2 separate regions of the Homo sapiens genome follow, and region 1 is linked to region 2. The links are contacts of gene promoters, found by promoter capture Hi-C in blood cells and fetal thymus (Javierre and others, 2016). All regions are on one chromosome and are shown on one strand. Each heading gives the region's core, a stretch centred on a gene start or on the middle of the fragment in contact. The rest is flanking DNA. Distances are from core to core; before and after follow the strand shown.

Region 1 (3,916 bases), core at 100-2,599, 570 kb after region 2:
TATAAAATTCAGGCAGTTAACCTTTTGACATTTGACCAAGATGACTGGTTAGCTTCCACCAGCTCAGAGAAACAAGGCATTACTGTAGTGCCAATGGGTGCGTAACAGAAACAGCAGTGAAGTCAGTTAGGATCAGCGTGAGATGGCCAGGTAAAGGCCCTTATGTCCGCCCAGATACAGGAATCAACCTTCCATCCTCGTAAATGCAGGGTCACCTCCTCCCTCTGTGTTCCACATTCCCCACCCCACTGTCTAGGATAGGACACTGTACCCAGATAGGGAAGAATGAAGAACAGGGGAAGAACATGCAGAACAGGAGAAGGGGCAGATTAGCACCCCAGCAAGCACCAGGGTCTACAACCAGGTGTCCACGGACAATTGCCCCCTCAAGGAAGCCAGAGAACTGGAGTGTTTTTCTTTAACCACATCCAGGAGAAAAGGAATTGCAGTCTTCTGGGTACCATCCCTGCCCCCATTCCCATCCCATGCCTCCCTCTCCATAATGAGTAACAGGCTAAGCTTGGTAATGAATATTACAGACTTGTTTTAAATTCATGAAAAGCATCTTTTTTAAGTGTTGGGGGAAAAAAGGTATTTACCTTACAGGCCTCTGCTCCCTCCCCACAATTCCTGGGAGTACCTCCTCCTTTCTTTCCTGAGGCCCAGGTAGGGAAGGGAGGCAAGGAGGAGTACCGAGAAACTGCTCCTTGGCAGTGCTGATTGCAGAACCCTGAGGTTCCTCCTCCTGGAATCTCCTCCTGGAAAATACTTGTGCAAATAGCAAGAACTGTTCCTGAGGGCTGTGTAATGATCTGTCCGAGATGACGTTCCTACTGAGAAGGGAGCATCGCCCTCTGCCTTCATGTACCTCCCACTCAAATGTGCGTGCGCACACACACACACACACGCACACACATGCACACACATGTGCCCTCCCCATACTCAAGCCTCTCCATCTCCGGCCCTATCACTCACTTGATTTCAGATCTTCAGGAATGGAGCACTTCCTCTCCCTCACTTTCCTGACCATAATGCCCCTGAGTGCTTCCTCTAACGTTTCCCCTCTTCTCAACATCCCTGAACTGCTTCAGACCTTCATTTTTCCCTTCTAGGTACTCCTTTATGGGTCATATTAATATCGAATTATTTAGCATAACTTTATTTCCAAGCCGAGACTATGAGCTCCATGAGGGTGGATACCAACTCATACTTATCCCTCAGATGCCAGTACCCAGTACCTGCAAAATGAATGAAGCCCCTGCCTACCTTTCTCTGAATTCTCCTTGCCCTGCACAGATCTCCACTGCCCACCTTTGATATTAGACTTAATTCACCTCCTGACTCCCAACTCTTAACCACATTATTCCCACACTGGACTTCTGAACCTACCTGACCTTTTCTTTCTGAGGAACCAGCTGGAAGACATCAGTTAAACAGAAACGGATTCTGTCCAAAGGCAAGTATTCCCCATATCTTAATCTTTCTTCTGGGCCCTTCCTGGGGAATCACTCGATGAAGTGCATGAAAATTGAAGGCCCAGTGCTGACTCTTTTCACCACGGAACACCAAAGAGACTCTCCACACCTTTGAAAACATGCAAGCTCTCTTTCCTGACCCAAGGATGCTTCTATGGCCTGAATTGTCAGGTTTCTACAGGCATAAGCCCACATTACAAGACAGAGAAAGAAAGCTATCAAGCTAGGGTTGAATAAACCCCACAGATATTCCAGCAATGAGTGCATTAAATTGAGAAACTGAAGCGAGAGGATCGCTTGAGCCCAGAAGTTTGAGGGTGCAGTGAGCTATGATGGCATCTCTACACTCCAGCCTGGATCACAGAGCAAGATCCTGTCTCTTAAAATAAAAAAAGAGTGTATTTAAAAAGCAGTTCAGCTTGCCTCTAGGAGCTGGGGCAGGTATCACCTGGGAAAAGGCAGGAGGAAATTTTCTGGGTTACTGGTAATGCTTCATATCTTGATTGGAGTCTGGGTTACATCAGTAGATGCATTTGACAAGACGAAAAAATACAGTTAATATGTATGTTTCATTGTATAGTTTCATTGTATGTAAGTTTTACCTCAAAGAAAAAAACTACAAACAAATATTAAATAGTTTCTTAAAAAGCAGCTTGGCATATCTCTTTCCAACAGATTAATGTTATTAGTCTAATCTAAGCTTTATCCACCAGTCCACATCTCTTGCCCAAATTCTGAAGGTTTCTAGCCCCACTCACTTGTAGGTTTCTAGCTGCACTTCACCAAAAGTTACTGCATTCTAACTGTGTGTCTGGCATCCTCACTGGGGCTGGGGTGCACAGACAAATTAAACATGGTCCTGCACTGCACAGCTGAAGTCTAGTGTGGAAAACCAAGCACTAAACAGACAATCCCAATACCATCGAGGTGATGCACAGATAAAGAGAAGAGCAAGGGGCTGGTGGAAGTGCATAGCCCAGAACTCTGACTTCACTTTGGTGGGGAGAGGAAGGAAGACAAGAAGAATGCCCAGAAAATCTTCCAGGGGCTGGGCCCACTGGCTCAAGCCTGTAACTGCAGCACTTTGGGAGCCGAGGTGAGCGGATCACGAGGTCAAGACATCGAGACCATCAAGACCATCCTGGCCAACATGGTGAAACCCCATCTCTACTAAAACTACAAAAATTAGCCAGGGGTGGTGGTGGGTGCCTGTAGTCCCAGCTACTTGAGAGGCTGAGGCAGGAGAATCGCTTGAACCTGGGAGGCGGAGGTTGCAATGAGCTGAGATTGCACCACTGCACTCCAGCCTGGTGACAGAGCGTGACTCCGTCTCAAGAAAAAAGAAAAGAAAAAAAGAAAATCTTCCAGGAAGAAGGTATTTCTGATCTGAATCTTAAAGGATGAGTAGGAAAAAGCTCTGTCATCTAATCGTAGGAGGGCATTAAAGACAATACACGGAGGAAAATACGTGAAGAGGCAGAAGCAAGAAAAAATTAAATCTATGCAAGAAACTGAAAGAAATTTAATGTGACTGAGGCAGAGTCTTGATGAGGGAATGAGAAGGGTTGAAACTGAAGGGACGGACAGAAGCCAGCTCATGAAAGATGGTGTGTGCTCTGCACATAGTTTGTCTACTATAAATCACTTAGACAGCTGGGAGTTTGAACTTGAGACTGTCAGAGGGAAAACCATTTGTGAAGCTGTTTCTTCAGTGAACATAAAAAATGGCAAGGCCCCCAGGCAGAGGCTTCTGAGCCAGAGCCCTGGGATTGACAAAGAGGCAGAACTTCATAGACCCCGGTGTCCTTGTACATAGGGGGCCAAGAGGAGGAAAAATGTAAAATTACTCTCAGATCTCTATTTAGATAACTGGGTGAATGTCAATACTGTTAATCAGAATGGAAAATGGTGCAGGAGGAGGAGCAGGTGATGGGGAAGATGTGGGGAACGTAGGTGAGGCCAGTTGCAACCCCTAGGGTTCATCAGTGCATTACTGCCCATCCATTAGTGGATATTAGTGTTCAGGAGAGAGGTCTGGGCCGGAATGAAGATGTGGGAGCCAGGAAGTGTGACTCCAAGAATGAGTCACACAGGAGAGTTTGTAAGAGGAGAGAAGAAAAAGGCTAAGAATAGAACACTGGAGAATATCAAAGGGGCAGGCAAGGTGAGTCAAAGTGGGACTGAAGGGTGGCCCAAAAAAGGAGAGAAAGAAAGAAAACCCCAGCACCTCAAAAGATGAGTGGCTCTAACAGTGTCAGAGCCCACCGAGATCAGATAAGATAAAGGCTGAAAAGTGGCGACTGTATCCGAGTACCTTGGCAAGGATGTATCTCGGTTCCAGGGATGGTGGTGCAAACATTACAGGGTGATAAGAACATAAAGCAAAACACGGATGTTGAGGCCAAAAAAAAAATGGAGTTGTTTTCAAAAAGCTTGGTTGC
Region 2 (3,794 bases), core at 683-3,182:
AGTTACTTACATTTTCTGATTGTAATTTATCTTTTATGAAAAATATAGATATAATAATTATCTCTTGAGTTGTTGCAAGGGCATGTGTCAAAGACAGTTCCTCAATAAACCATGTTTGCTACTACTATTACTCTTTTGCTTTACTCTGGTGTCAAGCAAATATTTCTTGTTTAAACTCTAAGAAGAGCTTACTATTAAATAATTAATGGATAATTTAGCCAATGACTAAAAAAGTCCAAAATCATGTCACCAAATATTAATACTAAGGTAATTTTATTAAATAACTTTATTTAAACATACAACCCATATAAAGAATTTGTATTATGGACTCTTGGCATCTGCAAAACTTTACCTTTTATAATTTTTGTAAGGTTAGATGCCATGATTCGTTGTTACACTGCAATAGCTGCAGAATATACAGTGGTTTGTGGTGGCTGTTCTTACTTATCTTTCATAACTTTCCTTACCCTTTTTCATCCTGCTCTGTGCCCCAGGAGACTCGCATTTATACATTGCATCAACATTCTTGTCCCCATGTTGTATTTGGTTTGGCTTAGAACAGAAGCCAGCAATAGATTTGAGAGAGTCAGATCAAAATAAGGTTGGGATGGCTGCCTTGCTGTACTAAAGAACAGAGATCCTATCAGGTGATTTTTTTTTAATAGTTGTAGCATTCTATTGGTTCCAGTTAACACTCCTTCTACTTGCCCCTTCAGGCCAAGAAGTGTAAAAGTTCTGTTGTATGATCTGTGTGGCTATTACCTAACCTTGTTCACAATTTCTAAATAGCCCTCTCATAAAGCGTTTTCTCACTTATCCCAATTCAGGAGTACCATCTCTTTCCTGCTAGGAACCTGAATGATACACAGAAATGCACCCACCAGTTAGTGATGAAATAAGAGCAACTCTTCCATTCCGTTTTAAGCTTTGGTTAGTAGGTTCTGCTGTCCCTACTTTGGAAGCATTCTTACACAATAGAAGTCAAAACACATCTAACTTCTGTAAGACTTTTTGAGTGATTGTCCTCTTGACAGCCCCTTTCACTTCATTGTTCCTCAGGCCGTAGATGATGGGGTTTAGCATAGGTGTGATGACAGTGTAGGACAATGACACTAGCTTCTTGCTCTCAGGGGACTGGTTTGATTTGGGCCGCAGGTAGGTCAGACTGGCTGTTCCGTAGAAGAGGGACACCACAATGAGGTGTGAGGAACAAGTAGAAAATGCCTTCTGGCGGCCAGTGGCAGAGGACATCCTCAGAATTGTTATGATAATGCGGGTGTAGGAAACCAAAATGAGACAAAAGGGAAACATGATAAACAGGAGTGTGGAGGCAAGTGCTTGCATTTCATACATGGTTGTATCCACTGTGACTAGTTTTAACACTGGGGGACCATCACAGAAAAAGTGGTCCACGGCATTTGGTCCACAGAAAGGAAGGGCCATCATCCAAGCTGTCTGTAGCATAGACACAGGAACACCGGACATCCAAGAGCCTATGGCCATCCACAAGCATAGGGACCTGTTCATTATGACTGAATAATGGAGAGGGTTACAGATGGCCACAAAGCGATCATAAGCCATCATGGAGAGAAGGAAACATTCAGAACTGCCAAAGAAGAAGAAGAAGTACATCTGGGTACCACAGCCCACAAAAGAGATAATTTTCCTTGGGGACACTAGATCTACAAGCATTTTTGGCACCATAACCAAGGTGAAACATACTTCAAGAAGTGACAGATTTTGAAGAAAGAAGTACATGGGTGTTTGAAGTGCGAGATCCACACTGGTAACTGTGACAATAAGAAAGTTGCCCAACAAAGTGACTGTATAAATGGCCAGGAAAAAAATAAAGAGGGAAACTTGCATCTCGGGGTTGTTTGTAAAACCAAGAAGAATAAATTCAGTGACTCTGGTGTGATTTTCACAGATCATATCTTAGATGAGTTTCTCTCTAAAAATCAAAGTATGTGCATCAAAGGGTATTAAATCAATATAGAGGTAATCTCAAAAATAATAATAACATCCATAAAACATCTTTATTCTCAGTTGTCTTACCATTCTGTTTCTCTGAAGCAGAAATGATGTTTATGATAAGATAAAATTAAGGAAAAATAAACATTCTGTATAAATCTTACTCATTGTTTACCACCTAGATGTAATTTTTTTCTCATGAGTAGTCATAGTCTGTGCTCATATTCTTCAACGTAGGCATGCTATTTTGTAGGATAAAGTGGAAAGAGTGTAGATAGATAATTAAAATAGAATAGTGTACTAATTTTTAAATGATTTCAGGATGCAATAAAGATAAATAATGGGCTAGTTTGACATTCTAATATTTAATTATATTAATCACATTTCTACTGAATATAGTACATTTTATACCATTCATCCACTATAAATATATACATATACCAACATGCCCAGTACACACACACACACACACACAAGAAACTTAATAAATAAACATAATATATGCTTATGATTTTGGTGCTTCTCTGTAGTCTCCATCAGCCTAATAGTTTATGACATTTTTATATTGTCTTTTGAACCATAACTCAACTTCACTGGGCCCCCACTTCTTATTATACATAGAGTTATAGTTATATTGTTTAAGCTATATTTTTTAAAAACTTCCAAACAAATATGACTTACAATAGAGAAATATCCTCCCAACACTCATCTTAACTTTTCTCTGCCAAAATAGTTCCTCTCATGACTGTCCATCTTCTTTAAAACTTCATGATCAGAAGTAGGGTACATATACTTACTTTTGTATGTCAGCTGATCCAGTCCCAAAAGCACTAATTCAACCATTACAAACTCAAATACTATATCTTACTTAGAGCAAAATATTTTGGCCAACATTAAATTATGCAATTGTTTTCTTTACAGGAGGTCATTCTTAGTACCAAAATTTAGCAATTACAGGAGGATGTGTTAGAAAAATAATTTTTTCCAAATATTAGAACTGGGTAAATATCGTATCAATTATTTTACATACTTTTTAAATTTAATTCAGAAAAAAATGCATATTTCATTTTATAGTCAAAATAATTTAAAATAGATATCCGCTCCTGAAGTCAGTAGGTAAAAACTTACAGTGTATGGAATCATTCTGAAACTGTGGCTCATTTAAATAATTCTATGTTTTAATTCTACTCTTAAGACATGTAACATCTTACCTGTGTATTTTCCATATTGTAAGTTCTCAAAGGAATGTCCTCAGTAGCAAAAAGAAAGGAACAACTCTGGTGATTTCAGGTTTCCCATGCCCTTGTAAGTCCCAAAATAATAGGTAACATGTGACAGTGATTACAACCATTACTCTCTCACTACTATTGCAAAACCAGCTTCACTATCATTCTTGTCATCAGGAATAGAAACAACAACATCATATTCCTGGTATATTCATAAAAACTTACGAAAAACTTCATATGCATTATCATGCTTACCTACATTTTGGAGCAATTCTAAACTTGTTATGGGTCTAAAATTACACCATCTTTTGTTTTGAAAAAATATGGGAGTTGATGAAGGCATCAAGATTTTATAGTAGTTACAATATTTAGTGCATCCTAAAATGCCTCAACCAACTGCCTCTCAGAATTCTAATATTAACAGTGGCAGAAAGCAGTACTAAGATGAATGGCTTTTCATTGAGTAATAAGTTCTATAATGTACAATCCATGTGAAATATGAATACGGATATCCAAAAATGGTCAGTTTCTCGAATTTTTAATAATTACCATTGCACATTTTTCACCTTTCCCAAAGGCATTTAAGTTTTAATAAAA

Evidence for each region. The method cuts DNA at HindIII sites, captures the fragments that hold promoters and counts their contacts. A CHiCAGO score of 5 or more calls a contact.
Region 1: a contact is called between a fragment that was not itself captured here and the fragment with the promoter of OR10A7 in region 2, in 1 of 17 cell types (non-activated CD4 T cells). The highest score is 5.8, in non-activated CD4 T cells.

The regions. Positions count from the first base shown.
Region 1 is chr12:54,650,275-54,654,190 of GRCh38, reverse strand. No RefSeq gene overlaps it. Among named protein-coding and RNA genes, the nearest start is that of DCD, 3.9 kb to the right of the region's middle. The HindIII fragment of the contact is 1,656 bases long and covers 522-2,177 here.
Region 2 is chr12:55,219,163-55,222,956 of GRCh38, reverse strand. It overlaps OR10A7 (olfactory receptor family 10 subfamily A member 7), which reads right to left and starts at 1,932. Exons shown (of 1, transcript NM_001005280.1): 1 at 982-1,932. The coding sequence starts at 1,932. The coding sequence ends at 982. The HindIII fragment of the contact is 4,903 bases long and covers 928-3,794 here.